Linked DNA regions of Homo sapiens: regions 1, 3, 4, 5 and 6 are each linked to region 2. The links are contacts of gene promoters, found by promoter capture Hi-C in blood cells and fetal thymus (Javierre and others, 2016). All regions are on one chromosome and are shown on one strand. Each heading gives the region's core, a stretch centred on a gene start or on the middle of the fragment in contact. The rest is flanking DNA. Distances are from core to core; before and after follow the strand shown.

Region 1 (3,199 bases), core at 212-2,711, 400 kb after region 2:
AACAGGATGAGACTGTCAGGAGAGGCCATCATGAAGGAGAAGGGGGCAGGCCTCCAAGCCACGTAGAGCTCAGACAGCAAGTGGTTGGGCTAAAGAGGAAGAGTCAACAAGGAAGACTTACAAAGAAAGGTCAGAGCAGTAGAGAAAAGAAGCCAGACCTGGTGGAGTGCTGGAAGGCAAGGCAAAGAGTATTTCAAGGAAGATGGCACTCAGTGACGTAGTGTGTACTTGAGTATCGCTAAGAGAGTAGATCTTAAATGTTCTAACACACACACACTATGTGAGGTGGCAGACATGTTTATTAACTTTATCATTTCATAATGTACACAAATATCAAAACATCACGTTGTATACTGTAAATATACAATTTTTATTTGTTGATTATACCTCAATAAAGCTGGTGGTGGAGTGTGAGGGGAAAGAAGGATAGGGCTCAGATCTAGCAAATCCTGTTTCAGATCTAGGAAACATCCAACAGATAATTATTTGCTTCCACCAGATTTTACCCATCATTCTATGATGTTTAATTTGGTTTGCTCTACTTATATTTGATATCAATGTACTGAAACAGGGAGCAGGTAAAAAGGCAACAAGGGTGAGGCAAAAATATTAATAAAAGCCAGAGAACAGATCCTAAAGCTCTTCCAGCTTCTGAACCACCTATCTTTGTCCTCGTTGTCAGTGTCTCTCCTCTTTCCACCTCATAAACATGGATGCTTTGTTTGTGACATGAGGCTGCCTCTGTTTTCCTGTTGGCCAGCTCATCAGAGCGCTCTGGGGCCAGGCCCTTCCTGGCCTCCCTCTGCCCACATACACTAGGCTCCAGGTGAATCTGCACATACCTCGCCCTCTACTTCTCCTCCCCCATCTGGCTAATTCTTACTCACCCCCAGGTCCTTCTTTATATCTCACTTTCTCCAAAATTGTTTTCAAATCCTGCAAGCCCAAGTCTGAGCTAAGTGCTCCTGTTGTTTATTTTCCCATCATCTCCAGGACTTTCCATCACAGCAATAAAGTGGAAAGAAGTAAACTCACAGGCTTGGGCACTACACCCGTGCAAGTTAAAATCCCTGCTCCACCAACCTGTGTGGCCTTGAGTAAGTCTCTTAGTCTATTGAAGGCTGTCAGTCCCTAATCCTAGAAGGTGTTGTGAAAATTAAGAGTTTACATGTTTAAAACACTAAGCAAAGTAACTGAAAGAAAGAACTCAGTAAACTCTATCCATTATTATTATGACTATCAATATATTGTTTTATGAGGGCTAATGTCTTGTCTGCCTTTTTCAGTGAAGTGTAAACTCCTTAGGGGCAGAAACTGAATCTGTATAAAATAATTGCAAACTCAAATCACCAAGACTCACCACCTTAAAACTCCAAGTGTACATTTGAAACTTTGTGCTACACATTTTTATTTAAATACATAATGAAAAATTCAACCTCTACATATCCTAAATCATTGATTGTCTTAGGACTCTAAGTACTTTCTCATTCTTACTTCCCTTTTACTGTTAATGGAACCACAACTCTCCCACTGACCTAGGCTCCCAACCCAACAGTCTCTACTTCTTCGCTTTTCCTTGACTCCTACACTACTCAATGTCCTTTATATTGACAATACTAGTGATAGGGCTGAGTCAGGGTGATGGTAAGGATGATGGCAGTCAGGTGAGGTTGTGATAAAAAAAAAAAATGATCACCATGGCTGAGACTAAGTTAACCTTTAAGTGTCAGTGGAAGGAACCATACTTGTGCTGAACTGTGGAAGTATACCTGAAGACAAGGATGGGGGGATCAGGAGGACGATTCTGGTATTTATAGCCCACCATTTATATTAATCAATTATTAATAAATTCTTAATAACCTATGATGCCATCTGTGTGTTATAAAAAGCAATGCCAGGCTTTTTCTTTATTCTGGATAAAGTCTTTTTTTTTTTTTTTTTGAGATGGAGTCTTGCTCTGTCACCCGGGCTGGAGTGCAGTGGCGTGATCTCGGCTCACTGCAACCTCTGCCTCCTGGGTTCAAGCGATTCTCATGCTTCAGCCTCTGGAGTACCTTGGATTACAAGTGCCCACCACCACGCCCAGCTAATTTTTGTATTTTTAGTAGAGACGGGGTTTCACCACGTTGGCCAGGCTAGTCTTGAGCTCCTGACCTCAAGTGATCCGCCTATCTTGGCCCCCCAAAGTGCTGGAATTAGTTGTGAGCCACCGTGCCCAGCCAAGTCTACTTTTTTTAAATGTAATAGTGATAAGTGGCAGAGTTTGGTAGATTTCTGCATTGCCAGAGTGATCCTTTGATCCCTAAGTTTTTTTGCATAATTAAAAATTTTTCAGTTTATTCTTGCTTCTTTCCTGTTTCTCATTTAACAAAGTAGATGAAGGGAAATTACAAAATAGTGGAAAGATTTAATATAACTGGTGATAAGTTGAGTCTCTAGGTGGAACATCGGGTGGACAGAAAAAGAGGAAGAGGCATAGATGAGGCACAGGATGCTTTTGATGTTATCAGGCCTGCTTGAGGTCTGGGGGTGACTGAACTGCCTCTGGAAAATGGCTTTGAGGTATGTGACTGTGAGATGTGAGACACAGAAGTTATGTCTCTGACACTTGGATCCTACATCTTCCTGAACATGTGGCCAAGAAGTTTTTTCAATAAAAGAACATGCCTTAGAACCATGAGAGGAAGGAATGCCAGGATTCAGGAGCTGCATGAGTCAGCTGGGCCCGATGTTTGCTGCTTCATAATGCCAAGGGCATGACTTACAGCTTCAGTCTGGTTTTCCCCAATTCAATATCAAAACATATGCCTCCATGGAGGCAAATGATGTTCCTCCACCAAGAACCAGCTTCAATGAAACTGCAGTGTCTAAGTAACTGCAGCTTTTTCTTTCTATGTATTGATGTCTGACATGATTTAAATATTTGTCTCCTTCAAAACTCGTGTTGAAATTTAATCCCTGATGTGGTAATATTGACAGGTGGGGTCTTTAAGAGGTGATGAGTCGTGAGGGTTCTGCTCTCATGAATGGATTAATGGCTTAATGGACTAATAGCTTATGATGGGGTGGGGCTTGTGGCTTTAAAAGAAGAGGAAGAGAGACCTGAGCTAGCTCACTAAGCTGCCTCTCCATGTGATGCTCTCTGCTGCCTGGGGACTCTGCAGAGTCCCCACAAGCAAGAAGGCCCTCACCAGATGGG
Region 2 (2,896 bases), core at 8-2,507:
GAAGTTTCTAGGGACTATTGTCAGAAGAGCTGTAGTATATTTACGTAATTTTTAACCAGACATAGCTTCTGTTTAGGTTAAAAATTCTTGATTATCCAGAAGACTCTCCTCACTTTTTACATAAATTTGTGCTAGCATTTAAGTTCTATAGATATAATTATATTGGACTGATCATGGAGCAAGTTTAAATCAGCAAAATCACATAATTTCAGATAGATAAAAAGAAATATAATGTTATTGCTTTCAAGGGCTAAAAAGGTGTTGAGAAGTGCTTATTATTTTTAACTTAATTTAATAAATAATTAAGAATGGCTTGCAATTAATTTAGTTAATGATATATGCAACAGTTTGAAAATTTTGTTTCCTTCATACTTAAAAATAAATCTCATATATTTACTCTTTACTTGCTTTACTCACAAACACTATAAATCAAAAGTTCAGCTATCTTCTGCCCAATTGTCACAAATTTCAAATTATTAGCATGTCTGCAATTTATTTTTGAAATATAAAAACTTTTACTCTAAAACAATATATAAGTATCCTTTTCCCAGAGTGGGAGCCAACCTGTTTGTGACAATATCCAGCAAAATCACCATAGGGTTCACCTTCATTCTTCTGGATATGGATACCATTTTCCCTAGCTTACCTCAGCCAAAATGTTTAATATAGAGTTTAAATTTTAATCTCCCATTATTCCTCCTAAGTATAATTGCTACTCTGTGAATTGCCATTACTGGCATGGCTATAGAATTAGATCATTACATGGAGACTCACGTTGTTACTAGGTGTTATTTAGCTTCAATCTCCCTACTTATTCTCTCTGGGAACCGACTTAAGTCATTACTGGGTCTTGGTGCTGCACAGACATAAGCTCAAGGTTATTGTTCACAAAAAATAGTTAAAAGTAAAATTATCTATTTGTTAAAAGCCAAATAATTATTAATGTTCCTGGGAAAGATAGTATAGAAAGTTTAAAGGAAACATCTTTCCTAATAATATTAATGACAAATTGCATGGAAGAGAAATATGTACTTACGGTTTCCTTTGGAAATTGCTCCATTTTTCCTAAAGGTTTAGAACCTGGCAAGATAAAATGTGTCAGAGAGAGAGAGAGAGAGAAATAATTCAAATGGAACTGTCCAGTCGAATTCAAATAGAAATATAGAAACGTTAAGTATGTGGGGGAAAAAAAAAAACCTCTTGCTTGGTCCTAGAATCCCATCAGCCATACACAATCGACATTATCTTTAGAAGACATACTCAGCTGAGGCAACTGCTAAGTTTTACAGATACTGGGTGACTCAGCAGTTTTGGGAGGCTCTGGCTTTCAAAGTTACTCAATAAGACTTAAAAAATGAAAGTAAGGTTTTTGGATGAAAAATTAGAAAAAAAACCCCATATATTTATAGGAAATACAGCTCAACAACTTCATCCAACTCAACTGCAGATTTTTCACAGTCTTTAAGTCAACGAATTATCCTGGCTTTTTCTAGAGAGTCTTTCACAAAATAAGATTTTATTCCTAACCTCAACAATTTGGTCTTTAAAAATCTGATTTAGTTGTACTCTTAATCATTTAAATGGAAGGAACAAAAAAAGTTATATGATGTGTTCATTAATATTTTGTAAAACAAAAATTAGGATACCTTATTTGACAAACCAATGATGTCACAAAAAAGTTGAAAATATGGCTGACTTCTGATATATATGGTATAAATCATCCTACTGTATGTATTAATTTTAATGGAGAACAAAAAGAGGTAGACTTTTTCCATAGGCATAGTTATTTTAGACTAACTTACAAAAATGAAACAAACAAGCAAAAAGAAAATAGTGGGATGCTCTTAGACCTTTCTACAAGCCAGTGGGGCTATCCATGCCAAACTTCATTCCAGTGTAAATGCAGCTTGAATAATCTAACTTCCATGATCTACAAGAGAAGATTTTGATTCTACATTTGTGGTTTCCCCTGTTCTTGGATCTCACATAGAAAAACTGAGAGTCCTTTACATTCTCTTCTTGAAAGTCTGGATTACTTTACTTTTCCATATAGTTTCATTATATTCAAGTCAAATTTAGTAGTAAAGGCAGGAACATAATTTTAGAGACTGCACTATAACACATGCACTGAGGAATATTTGTCTGAAGTTGGGATAAGGAGAGGAAATTATTTTATCTTTAAGAGAAAAGAATCAACATCTATGAAATATTTATATATTAACATGATCAATTTACATTAATTTCTAATCTTTAAAAATTCTGTGAGGCAGGTATTATCATACCCGTCTTTATGTGAGAAAACAGTCCCTAAAAAACAAAGTTTCATTCTATGGTGATTTGGTTTGAAAGTATTTAAATAGTCAAATCCATATCAATATGATTATCATGGCACTCTGCTCCTTATTTTTTTAGTCAATCTTCTCTTAGTCCATCAACATTATTTGTTCTGTTTCCCTGTTCCAGAATCATCTTAGCAAGAATGCCAAACATGTGATAACCTTGTGACCAAAGAAATAGTATGGCCCATTGTGAATAGTGCCACAATATACATATGTGTGCATGTGTTTTTATAGTAGAATGATTTATAATCCTTTGGGTATATAGCCAGTAATGGGATTGCTGGGTCAAATGGTATTTATGGTTCTAGATCCTTGAGGAATTGCCACACTGTCTTCCACAATGGTTGAACTAACTTACACTCCCACCAACTGTGTAAAAGCATTCCTATTTCTCCACATTGTCTCCAGCATCTGCTGTTTCCTGACTTTTTAATGATCGCCATTCTAACTGGCATGAGATGGTATCTCATTGTGGTTTTGATTTGCATTTCTCTAATGACCAGTTATGATGAGCTTTTTTTCATATGTTTGCTGACTGCATAAATATCTTCTTTTGA
Region 3 (3,163 bases), core at 40-2,539, 380 kb after region 2:
TATAATGTACATAAATATTCATAGCAGCATTATTCATAATGGCCTCCAATGACTAAAATAACAATAAAAATACACCAATTCTCTCTCTCTATATATATGTATATCAGTTTATGTGTATATGTAATTATCAATTAAATGGAATCTTATGTAGTAGTGAAAATGAATAAACTGCTGCTATGAAACAAGGGCTGATTTCTTTCTTTTTTTTTTTTTTGAGACGGAGTCTCACTCCGTCACCCAAGCTGGAGTGCAGTGGCGCAATCTTGGCTCACTGCAACCTCTGCCTCCTGGGTTCAAGTGATTCTCCTGCCTCAGCCTCCTGAGTAGCTGGGATTACAGGCTCATGCCACCACGCCTGACTAATTTTTGTATTTTTTTAGTAAAGATGGGGTTTCACCATGTTGTTAAGGCTGGTCTTGAGCTCCTCACCTCGTGATGCGCCCACCTCAGCCTCCCAAAGTGTTGGGATTACAGGCGTGAGCCACCGCGCCTGGCCACAGATTTCTAATTATGTTCTACAAGGCCTTGCATTTTCCTTCTGTCGAGGGGACCCCATCCTGCCCTCTGAAGATTCTCTGTACTGCAGCCATACTGGCCTTCTTTCAGTCCTCAAGCAAGTCAACACCTGCTGTCAGAGGGATTTTCACACAGTGTTCCCTCTGACTGAAGGTACCTTTAACTCCTATGCATTTTTCACAGCTTAGTGCAAGTCACTTCCCCATGGAACCCGCTTTGACCAACACCAACTCTAACTCCTGGCTTATGTTAATGCTCCTTTGACACATGCTGCTGAAGAACCATCTTCCTTTCCATCAGAACATTTGTCTCAGTTAGTTACCTGTCTCAGTTAATTTGCCTGTAAGAAAAATATCTACTTTCCCTTTAGAGTATAAACTGTACAAAATTTGGATTTGTTTTTAAAACCTTGTTTTATCATAAGAACCTAAAAGCTTTCCTTGTACCTATTAGCAATTCAATGGATATTTACTGAATGGATGAAGAAATGGATGGATGGGTGGCATGTTGGCTCCTCACTAATGCCTACAAAATGCAGTCGTATACTCTGGCTGGGCTCCTCCACGTCTATGGTCAGGTTATATGTTATCGTGAAAAGCCAACTCCTACTCCTGATTTTTAAAAAGACCATGTAACAAGATGGCCATGTTTGATGACTTAAGGCACTCTCAGGCAGAAGAGGGCCTGGGAAATTATTAGATGTTATTTCTGATAGAATTTGAACAATTCTGGACTGAAATAGCAAGGCAATCACTGATTTTACTAAAAAGAGAAACGATTTAATTATTAGAGCTAAGAGTAGAATGAACTGTCTTATGAGGTAGTAGGTACTCTGTCATTACCTTTCAAAGATCAGAAAGTGGTTGACTGTCTGACAGGGATATTGTAGCAGGATCTCTGCACTAGGAAGAAGTTAAACTAACCTTCCAATGGTAAGTTAGTTCCATGAAATTGGTTTCAGAAAGGTATGCAGATAAAGTCTCTCTTCTATGTTCACAGCATCGGAGAGAAAACAGCATCAAGGGAGGCGGAAGGAATCAACCTACCATTCTACCACATCACATCAGCCATATTTCATTTCACACACTGTGGTACCAATGCAATATTTGTGGACAAGCTTGTCTGCCAATTATAAATCTCTCATTTGCCTTAATAATCAGGTGCACATTGTTACTGATTATTTCATTTATCATTTTCAGCATTTTATTTTAATCTTGCAGGACTTTTGTGGACTTTGATCACATTTTCTCTTAGCTTCCTTTTTCTACGCTTATGTGTCCTTATATTTTCTCATCTTGCTTCATACAAAAGCTTCTCCTGTCTACTAATTATTGCCTCTGTCTTCATTAAAGATTCTCCAGGTATCTTCTACCTTCCATGAGGTGAGGTCATGAGTAGAATAGCATATAGCACTCTACATGCAGACATGCAATGGCAATGGAGAAGGATCACTTAACCAAGAATGACAGATTAACTGTTCAAAAAATAAAACAAAAACTGTTTTCCTAAAATAATAGAAATAGCATGGACACACAAAAATTTCCTACATTCAAAAGCGGCCTAAGTATGTCCGTGGATAGAATTTTAGAGCTATGAAGGAACTTAACTGCCTTCTTGTATAGCATGCAAGAAGCATACTTTGTGTTTTGTTGTTGTTGTTGTTTGAGACAGGGTCTCACTGTTGTTGCCCAGGCAGGAGTGCAGAGGTGTGATCTCAGCTCACTGCAACCTCTCCCTCCCAGGTTCAAGTGATTCTCGTGCCTCAGCCTCCCAAGTAGCTGGCATTACAGATGCCCGCCACCATGCCTGGCTAATTTTTGTATTTTTAGTAGAGACAAAGTTTCACTATGTTGGCCAGGCTGATCTCGAACTCCTGAACTCAAGTGATCCACCCGCCTTGGCCTCCCAAAGTGCTGGGATTAAAGGCGTGAGCCACTGCGCCTGGCCCAAAAGCATACTTTGAATCCTACAACTGTTACATTTGGAGACTCTCATTTGGGAGAGTCCTTGGATAATCTACTCCTGAGTTTCCAAGCTAGTCCCAAACTGGATCTTTTTTAGCTAAGCAGAATAACAAAATCCCAGAATCATTAGAATAGCAAAATGGGGAGAAGATTGTAGAAGGGGAAATTTTGTTCTATCCTGGTCAAAGAGAAGAATTAATTCTTGATTTATTACCAAAATAAAAGATATTTCTAAATATCTCAGCCTATGTTTGCCAATATGCCTAGATTCCTGGCTCATCCCAGATAAGAAAAACACAGGGCAATGTTTTGGTTGGTTACTTGGAAGTAACATGTGTAGTTACTGCCATCTAAGGGCCATCTCTAAGAACTACACCTTCTAACTTAAAGCCTGGGAAAACCACCACTCCTTTCTCTTTAGTGCCTTAGAAACTACCTAACAGTTTATATCTGTATAGAATTATGAATGTACATAGTATCACTTATGTGGCTTCATTTAGCCTTCCTATAACTCATGTGTGAGAAGCCATGTCACCCTTGTTGTACACCCACAAATGCTACTAAAAGCTATTATAATTTTTGCTGCTACTGTTGTACTTTGAATCCTAAAACTGTTGCATTTGGAGACTTTCATTTTGGAGAGTCCTTGAGTGATATGCTCCTCTGTTAGCTCCTTTTTGTTC
Region 4 (3,202 bases), core at 680-3,179, 300 kb after region 2:
ACCATGCTACTTTGGTGACTGTAACTTTGTAGTATAGTTTGAATTTGGATAGTGTGATGCCTCCAGCTTTGTGGTTTCTGCATAGGATTATTTTGGTTATTTGGGATCTTTTTTGGGTTCCATATAAATTTTAGAATAGTTTTTCTAATTCTGTGAAAAATGACATTGGTAGTTTGATCAGAATAACATTGAATCTGTAAATTGCTCTGGAGAATATAGCCATTTTAACAATATTGATTCTTCCTATCCATGAGAATGAAATGTCTTTCCATTTGTTTGTATCATCTCTAATTTCTTTTAGCAGCATTTTGTAACTCTTGTTGTAGAAATCTTTTACCTCCCAGGTTAGCTGTATTCCTATGTGTTTATTCTTTGTGTGGCTATTGTGAAAGGAACTATGTTCTTGGTTTGGCTTTCAGCTTGGGTATTATTAGTTGTATAGAAATGCTACTAATTTTTGTACATTGATTTTGTATCCTGAGACTTTGCTGAAGTTGTTTATAATTTCTGGGAAATTTGGGGCAAAGGCTATGGGGTTTTCTGGGTATAGAATCATATTACCTGCAAAAGGAGGTAGTTTGACTTCCTTTCTTTCTATTTGGACGTCTTTTATTTTTTTTTCTCTTGCCTGACTGCTCTGGCTAGAACTTCCAGTGCTATGTTGAACCAGGAGTAGTGAGAGTAGGCAACTTTGTCTTGTTCTGGTTCTCAAGAGGTATGATTTCAGCTTTTGCCTATTTGTGATATGATGTTGGCTGTGGTTTTGTCATAGATGTCTCATTTTGAGGTATGTTCCTTTGATACCTAGTTTGTTGAGGGTTTTTAACATGAAAGAATGTTGAATTTATTGAAACCTTTTCTGCATCTATTTAGATAATCACGTGATTTTTGTTTTTAGTTCTGTTTATGTGATAAATCACATTTACCAATTTGCGTATGTTGAACCAACTTTGCATTCCAGGGGTAAAGCTTACTTGATCATGGTGGCTTAGCTTTTGCTGTGCTGCTGGATTTAGTTTGCTAGTATTTTTTTTTGAGGACTTTTGCATCAATATTTATCAGGCATATTGTCCTGAATTTGTTTTTCCTTTGTGTTTCTGTCAGGTTTTGGTATCAGAATAATGCTGACCTCATAGAATGATTCAGGGCAGAGTCTCCGCTCCTCAATATTTTGGAATAATTTTGGTAGGATTGGTATCAGCTCCTCCTTATCTATCAGGTAGAATTCAGATGTGAATCTGTCTGATCCATGGCTTTTGTTGGTTTGTAGGTATTTTATTATGGATTCAATTTCAGAACTTGTTATTGATCTGTTTAGGTATTCAATGTCTTCCTGGTTCAATCTTGGCAGGTTGTATGTTTTCAGGAATTTATCTGTTTCTTCTAGATTTTCTAGTTTTTCAGCATAGAAATTGTTCATAATGGTCTTTGAGAGTTTTTGTATTTCTGTGGGTTCCATGGTAATGTCCCCTTTGTCATTTCTAATTGTATTTATTTGGATCTTCTCCTGTTTTTTTTTTTTTTTTTGTATATTAATCTGGCTAGTGGTCTATATATCTTATTCTTTCAAAAAACCAATTTTTAGTTTTCTTAATTATTTTTGTGAATTTTCACATCTCAATTTTATTTGGTTCAACTTAGATTTTGATTATTATTTTTCTTCTGCTAGTTTGGGGGTTGGTTTCCTTTTGTTTTTTCTAGTTCCTGTAAATGTGATGTTAGGTATAAATTTAAGATATTTCTGACTTTTTGATGTAGGCCTTTAGTGCTATAAACTTTTCTCTTAACACTGCTTTAGCTGTGTCCCAGAGACTCTGATATATTGTATTTTTGTTTTCATTAGTTTCAAAGATTTCTTGATTTCTGCATTAATTTAATTTATTACCCAAAAGTCATTCAGGAGTAAGTTGTTTAATTTCCAAATACTTCTATGATTTTCAGAGATCTTCTTGGTATTGATTTGTATTTTTGTTGCACTGTGATCTGAGAGTGTGGTTGATATAATTTCTGTTTTTTGAATTTCCTGAGCATTGCTTTATGGCCAAGCATGTGGCCAAGCATGTGGCACAGAGTATGTGCCATGTGCAGATGAGAAGAATGTATATTCTGTTGTTGAGTGGAATGTTCCTTATATGTCTGTTAGGTCAATTTAGTCAAGTGTGAAATTTTGTTCCTGAATATCTTTGTTAGTTTTCTCCCTCAATGATTTATCTAACAATGTTAGTAGGGTGTTGTATTCTCCCACTATTATTGTGAGGTTAGCTAGTTCTCTTCATAGGTCTCTAAGAACTTGTTTTATGAATCTGGTTGTGCCAGTGCTGAATGCACACATCTTTAGGATAGTTAAGTCTTGTTTGTAGAATTGAACTTTTTATCATTATGTGATGCCCTTCTTCATCCTCTTTGATAGCTTTTGGTTTAAGGTCTGTTTTTTTTTTCCTGAAATAAAAGAGCAACCCCTGCTCTATTTTGTTTGTTTTCCATTTGCTTTATAGATATTCCTCCATCCATTTAATTTAAGCCTGTGTCTTTACATGTAAGGTGGGTCTCTTGAAGACAGCATGTAATTGAGTCTTGCTTCTTTATCCAACTTACCATTCTGTGCCTTTTAAGTGGAGTGGTTAGCCTGCTTATGTTCAAGGTTAATATTGATATGTAAGGATTTGATCCTGTCATAGTGTTATTAGCTGGTTGTTATGTAGACTTGATTGTATAGTTGCATATTGTGTCAGTGGAATATTTACTTAAGTGTGTTGTTTTGTGGCAGGTAGCAGCCTTTTGTTTCCATGTTCAGCACTCCCTGAAGGACCTCTTATAAGGCAGGCCTAATGGTAACAAATTCGCTTAGTGTTTGTTTGTCTGAAAAGGATTATGTTTCTTTTTCACTTACAAAGCTTGGTTCGGCTGGATATGAAATCATGGTTAGAATTTCTTTTGTTTAAGAATGCTGAATGTAGGCCTTTAATCTTTTCTGGCTTGAAAAATTTCTGCTGAAAGGTCCACTGTTAGTGTGATAAGGGTTCCCTTTGTACATGATCTGCCTCTTCTCTTTTGCTGCCTTTCATATGTTTTATTTACCTTGATCTTGGAGAATTGGATAACTATGTGTCTTAGGGATTGTCATCTTGTGTAATATCTTGCTGGGGTACTCTGAATTTCCTGAATTTACATGTCAACCTCTCTAGCAAGGTCAGGTAAATTT
Region 5 (3,190 bases), core at 691-3,190, 320 kb after region 2:
TTATAATCAAACCATATCTATCTACTTGTAGAATGATTTCAAAAGACAGCAAGGTTAAGAAGGCTTTTCAAAATCCAAGGCATTATGCCAAATATATAACATATATTTAATAAAAGTGGAAAATTTGGAAACTTCCATCTCTGGTGGGAGTAATCCAACTTCCTATGGTTCCACTGTGCAAGATACCCTAGATTCTAAGAAGGAAGTAAAACATGGTGTATTGCAGGGAAACTTCAAGTAATTGAATTTGTGTGAACTTTCAGACTAAGCTGATAGAAAATCGCATGGTTTATTTTAATGTTTCTGCTATTAGTTATTTTTTCACGATAATTTAACTGGTGAATCCAGTTATCTATTTAGACAATAGATGTATTTTTATTCTGGCTATGTCATAATATTCTGCAATTACAAAATCACATAACACTTAAATTACTGCCGTAAAGCTAAGAAGAAATAACTTGCCATATTCCAAATTCCTAAAGGAGCTCGATCTCTGTTACCTAAGCAATCCCTCCTCTGTTTTGCTCTTTTGTGATTCTTAGGCTGGAATCACGTTTTGGCTCTATCAGCCTAAGGAGCAGTTAGCCACCTGTCACTGAGTTAGGGAACAAAAAGACCAAGGCGATAGGTATTTGCACCATAAACTTCTCCTATCTTGTATGTCCATAATTCTGTATTATTATTATTATTATTATTATGTTTTGAGACGGGGTCTCGCTTTGTCGCCCAGGCTGGAGTGCAGTGGCATGAGCTCGGCTCGCTGCAAGCTCCGCCTCCTGGGTTCACACCATTCTCCTGCCTCAGCCTCCCGAGTAGCTGGGACTATAGGCGCCCGCCACCATGCCCAGCTAATTTTTTGTATTTTTAGTAGAGACGGGGTTTCACTGTGTTAGCCAGGATGGTCTCGATCTCCTGACCTTGTGATCCGCCCGCCTCAGCCTCCCAAAGTGCTGGGATTACAGGCGTGAGCCACCGCGCCCAGCCAATTCTGTATTATTTTGCATTTCTGACACTCATGACTTGATACCTTAAACATTCAAACACATAGAAGCACTTATTTGTGTGAACAGCAGTTTCTTTCCTTGAACCAAAGATTGTCAACCCTTAATCTAAAACATAAAAGGAAATAAAATTCAAACACCACTTCTCCATTACTTGTAAATTTTATTTCTCTCTTCTTAATATATTAATACCCAAATTCCAGCCAAAATATTAAGGATGGATGTGGTGGCTTATGCCTGTAATCCCAGCACTTTGGGAGGCTGAGGTAGGTAGATTGTTTGAGCTCTGGAGTTTGAGATCAGCCTGGGCAACATGGCAAGACCTTATCTCCAAAAGAAAAAAAAAAGGTTAAGAAATCTAAATTTCAGTTAATTTTGCCCTTATTGCTAAGTAAATCTGAGTAAATTATAGATGTTAGTAATTTGGGGTAAGAATTCCCAAAACCAGCCGGGCATCGTGACTCACGCCTCTAATCCCAGCACTTTGGGAGGCCGAGGTGGGTGGGTCACTTGAGATCAGGAGTTTGAGACCAGCCTGGCCAGCATGGTGAAACCTTGTCTTTACTGAAAATACAGAAATTAGCCAGGCTTGATGGTGCATGCGTGTAATTCTGGCTACTTAGGAGGCTGAAGCAGGAGAATCACTTGAACCTGGGAGGCAGAGGTTGCAATGAGCCGAGATCGTGCCATCACAACAGAGCAAGACTCCGTCTCAAAAGAAAAAAAATTCCCAAAACCAGATGTTTAGGGTGGAGAGTTCATTACTGACAACAGTAGAGAATCTCATCTTCAATTTTAGAGATAAATTATATCAAGGGAAATTTTGACAGCCAAAGTGAAGTCCTGAAATTAAACAGAGTAAAGAAATTATCAATCTAGTAAAGATCCTCAAAGAATGCTTTCTGGAGAACAGTTTTAGATAAAATAAGCAAATAAAGAATGAAGATAGCAGAGATAAAGCCGGAGAAGTAGAAACTATCAATGTTTTTACCCCCTTCAAAAATAATGTTGAAACTTAGTACCCAATGCAACAGTGTTGGGAGCTTGGGCCAAATGGGAGGTATTTAGATCATGAGAATTTCACTCACGTAAATAGACTGATTAATGCCACTCTAACGGGCATGTAGGGGGTGAATTCGCCCCGTTTGTCATGTGAGGACACAGCAAGAAGGCCTCACCAGATACTGATGCTTGACCTTGGACTTCCACCTCAAGTACTGTGAGAAATACATTTCTGTTCTGTATAAATTACCCAGTCTATAGTATTCCATTACAGCAGCACTAAATGGACTAAGACAGTGGGAAAGTATGCATGTCCATTACAGGGAGGGTCAGAGAACAGGAGTTTTCATGAACCAGAAACTTCTTTCACTCATATTTTCTCCATGAGACATGCAATAAACAGATGAATGATGCCAACTCTGGCCTTGTACAGTATATCATGACTGGTTCACATCACTCCCCAGGTTTCCATATGCATTCACTCTCCTCTCCTGCCTCAACACTGAGTCTCTTTTATTCCACTCCAAAGTAAAGAGGTCATCCCTAGAACTACAGAAGCTCTTTCTGCCAACAGAGTTGTCTGGAGTTTATGGCATTAGCTTTGAGCAACAGGAAAAGTAGAATACAAAACTGCAATACAGAAACTACAAAATTTCAAGGAAGGACTGGCTGAGAGAAGCCTTGAGGTTGGAGGGGAAGGAATGGCATTGTTGTGAAAACGTGTTCTGGGAACTGAGCTTAAATTGAATTGTAGGAGGCTGCAGTCCCACTGGAAAATGCATACTGGCACCAAGATGACTGCTGCTTCCAGGAACATCCTCCCACTCCTTAGCAATGTGGAACAGATTGAAGGAAGCTCAAACAATCCATTTAAGCAGGAAGTAAATAGATTAAGAGAGCAACCAGATGGCCTAAGGCACTATCGGTATAGCTATCCCCACCCCTCAGCGCCCCCATCAGCTTTTCCTTCCTTGTTTCTTCTCACTGTCTGAAAGACTACTCAGGCGTGCACTGCGAGGTGGAGATCTGACTTCTCTTGTTCCCGCTTAAGACTGCCTCCTGTGTAAGTTTCTGCTATCTAGATCTTTGACTACCAACCAGCCAGGAGTGGTCTGCCTCTTCTTTGGTCTGAGCTTGCCTTGTGCTTATATTGTTGTACCCAAGCGAGTTAAGAAAATACCCCACAC
Region 6 (3,016 bases), core at 154-2,653, 280 kb after region 2:
CAACATCATACTTTATGGACAAAAGCTAGAAGCACTCCCCTTGAAAACTGGAACAAGACAAGGATGGCCTCCCTCACCATTCCTATTCAATAGAGTACTAGAAATCCCGGCCAGAGGAATCAGGCAAGATAAAGAAATAAAAGGCATCCAAGTAGGAAAAGAGAAAGTCAAACTATCACTTTTTGCAGATGACAAAATCCTGTATTTAGAAAAACCCATAGTCTCTGCAGAAAAGCTCTTTGATCTCATAAACAACTTCAGCAAAGTTTCAGGATACAAAATCAATATACAAAAATCAGTACACATTCCTATAAACCAACAACATCCAAGCTGAGAGTCAAAACAGGAATGCAATTCCGTTCACAATTGCCACAAAAATTGACAAAAGGATTTATTGTATTCATCAAGGTTGGAAATCACCATACTACATTTTTTTCTAGAGCAGGCTATTTGTGGGATGAGAGGGTTTTCTTAGAATGTAGTCTGTTTTGTATATTGTGTCTTATGTGACAGGCACTGTGTACATCACTTTGGATCCATTTTTCTCATAATCTTCAAATCAAAATAATGAGGCAATCATTTCATTTTTTACATAAGGAAACTGAAGCTTGGAGAGGTTAGGCAATCACAGAGAGGCTAACCAAGGAGGTAGTTATTAACAATAAGAATTACAAAACACTGCTCAAAGAAATGAAGGAACACAAACAAATAGGAAAAGTTCCATGCTCATGGATAGGAAAAATCAATATTATTAAAAATGGCCAGATTTCCCAAAGCAATGTACAGATTCAATGCTATTCCTATCAAACTACCAATGACATTCTTCACAGAATTAGAAAACACGATTTTAAAATTTATATAAAACCAAAAATGAACTTGAATAGTCAAAGCAATCCTAAGCAAAAAGAACAAAGCTGGAGGTATCACTTGACCCAACTTCAAACTATACTGCAAGGTTACAGTAACCAAAAGAGCATAGTACTGGTACAAAAACAGACACATAGACCAATGAAACAGAATAGACAGCCCAGAAATAAGGCCGCCCACCTACAATCACTGGATCTTTGACAAAGTTGACAATGACAAGCAATGGGATAAGGACTCCTTTTTCAATAAATGGTGCTGAGATAACTGGCTAGCCATATGCAGAAGATTAAAACTGGACCCCTTCCTTACACCATATACAAAAGTCAATTCAAGATGAATTGAAGGCTTCAGTGTAAAATCTAAAACTATAAAAACCCTGGAAGATGACCTAGAAAATACCATTCTGGATATAGGGCCTGGAAAAGACTTCGTTTTGAAGATGCCATAAACAATTACAACATAAAGAAAAAATGACAAATAGGACTTCATTAAACTAATGAACTTCTGCACAGCAAAAGAAATTACCAACAAAGTAATCAAACTATCTACAGAATGAGAAAAAAAAAATTGCAAACTTTGCATCCAACAAAGATCTGTTATCCAGAATCTATAAAGAATGTAAACCAATTTACAAGAAAAAAATGAGCCACCCCATTAAAAAGTGGGCAAAGGATGTGAACAGACCCTTCTCAATAGAAAACATACACATGGCCAACAAACATGAAAAAATGCTCAACATCACTAATTATTAGAGAAATGCAAATCAAAACCACAATGAGGTAACATCTCACACCAATCAGAATGACTGTTATTAAAAAGTCAAAAAATAACAGATACTGGTGAGCTTGCAGAGAAAAGGGAACACTTATATACTGCCAGTGGGAGTGTTAATTAGTTCAGCCATTGTGGAAAGCAGTGTGACAATTCCTCAAAGAACTTAGAACAGAACTCCCATTTGACCCAGCAATCCTAGTACTGGGCATATGCCCAAAGGAATATAAATTATTCTACCACAAAGACACATGCATGCATATGTTCATTGCACCACTATTCACAATAGCAAAGACATGGAATCACCCTAAATGTCCATTGACGTTAGACTGGATAAAGAAAGTGTGGCACATGCACACCATGGAATACTACACAGCCACAAAAAACAATAAGATCATGTCCTTTGCACCAACATGAATGGAGCTGGATGCCATTCTTATAAACAGAGCTAAACAATGAGAGAACACACGGACCCAAAGAGGAGAACAACAGACACTGGCGCCTACTTGAAGATGGAGGATGGGAAGAGGGAGAGGATGAAAAAACAATTCTTAGTGGGTATCAAGCTTAATACCTGGGTGATGAAATAATCTGTCCACCAAACCCCTGTGACATGCAGTTTACCTATGTAACAAACCTGCACATGTACCTCTGAACCTAAAATAAAAGTTAAAAAAATAATTTTTGGTCTTACAGTCAACATTCAAATCCAGCCTTAATGAACTCTAAAACTTAAGTATTTCATGGTCATATATTGCTTCCAGAGTCAGAATGTAGATGTTAAAATTTCTGAAATATTTTTCTATATATTTAAAGTCAGACATCGTTATGGTTTGAGTTTGTTTCCATAATTCAGGTTCTGCAAGGCTTCGCATGAGAAATTAGGTAACTGTGACTCACTATTTCGTTCTTTCTCTTTCACTGCCATGTTAAGGCCTATGAATCAGATGCCTATATCTTCAGTAAATGGGCAGGCAACTTGAAGCTAAGGTAAAAGGAAAACTGAGTCACTATCTTCCAATCTAGTATCTTACCCATTACCATATTGCACTCTGACCAACCTTCTTTCTGCATCACTAATACATGTGTACCAGTTGAAGACAGGACTCCTATGTAAGGAGTTCTCATTTTTACATTTTGTTTTGTTGCTGCTTTTGTTCTTTTTGACTGGTGAATTCCAATAATTCATATTTCTCTGTACACTTTCTAAAATTACTATTTGTGGATAGTGCTATCAATCTAACCTATTTGCCATCTTACTTCAGGTGGTTAGATGGAGCCCATTCCTGGTCATTATCAGCTCTGATCCATTTACTCTCTGCTACTTCAAAGACAAACATTTAAAGACAATCCATTTTCTGACGCATAATGGCTTAGA

The links. The method cuts DNA at HindIII sites, captures the fragments that hold promoters and counts their contacts. A CHiCAGO score of 5 or more calls a contact.
Region 1: a fragment that was not itself captured here is called in contact with the fragment with the promoter of SPTA1 in region 2 in 1 of 17 cell types (megakaryocytes); the score reaches 5.8 in megakaryocytes.
Region 3: a fragment that was not itself captured here is called in contact with the fragment with the promoter of SPTA1 in region 2 in 2 of 17 cell types (megakaryocytes and erythroblasts); the score reaches 6.9 in megakaryocytes.
Region 4: a contact is called between a fragment that was not itself captured here and the fragment with the promoter of SPTA1 in region 2, in 2 of 17 cell types (erythroblasts and megakaryocytes). The highest score is 12.7, in erythroblasts.
Region 5: a fragment that was not itself captured here is called in contact with the fragment with the promoter of SPTA1 in region 2 in 2 of 17 cell types (megakaryocytes and erythroblasts); the score reaches 13.8 in megakaryocytes.
Region 6: a fragment that was not itself captured here is called in contact with the fragment with the promoter of SPTA1 in region 2 in 2 of 17 cell types (erythroblasts and megakaryocytes); the score reaches 8.2 in erythroblasts.

What each region holds. Positions count from the first base shown.
Region 1 is chr1:159,085,650-159,088,848 of GRCh38, forward strand. It overlaps a transcript of AIM2 not described here. Among named protein-coding and RNA genes, the nearest start is that of AIM2, 10 kb to the left of the region's middle. The HindIII fragment of the contact is 5,350 bases long and covers 1-3,199 here.
Region 2 is chr1:158,685,458-158,688,353 of GRCh38, forward strand. It overlaps SPTA1 (spectrin alpha, erythrocytic 1), which reads right to left and starts at 1,258. Exons shown (of 52, transcript NM_003126.4): 1 at 1,037-1,258. The coding sequence starts at 1,060. The HindIII fragment of the contact is 3,907 bases long and covers 1-2,896 here.
Region 3 is chr1:159,069,347-159,072,509 of GRCh38, forward strand. All of the region lies in intron 2 of AIM2 (absent in melanoma 2), which reads right to left. Among named protein-coding and RNA genes, the nearest start is that of AIM2, 5.8 kb to the right of the region's middle. The HindIII fragment of the contact is 683 bases long and covers 949-1,631 here.
Region 4 is chr1:158,982,519-158,985,720 of GRCh38, forward strand. It overlaps a transcript of PYHIN1 not described here. Among named protein-coding and RNA genes, the nearest start is that of PYDC5, 19 kb to the right of the region's middle. The HindIII fragment of the contact is 1,925 bases long and covers 968-2,892 here.
Region 5 is chr1:159,002,976-159,006,165 of GRCh38, forward strand. It overlaps a transcript of IFI16 not described here. Among named protein-coding and RNA genes, the nearest start is that of PYDC5, 1.8 kb to the left of the region's middle. RefSeq lists enhancers at 2,412-2,937, 2,938-3,190. The HindIII fragment of the contact is 4,916 bases long and covers 1-3,190 here.
Region 6 is chr1:158,966,748-158,969,763 of GRCh38, forward strand. All of the region lies in intron 7 of PYHIN1 (pyrin and HIN domain family member 1), which reads left to right. Among named protein-coding and RNA genes, the nearest start is that of PYDC5, 34 kb to the right of the region's middle. The HindIII fragment of the contact is 1,597 bases long and covers 606-2,202 here.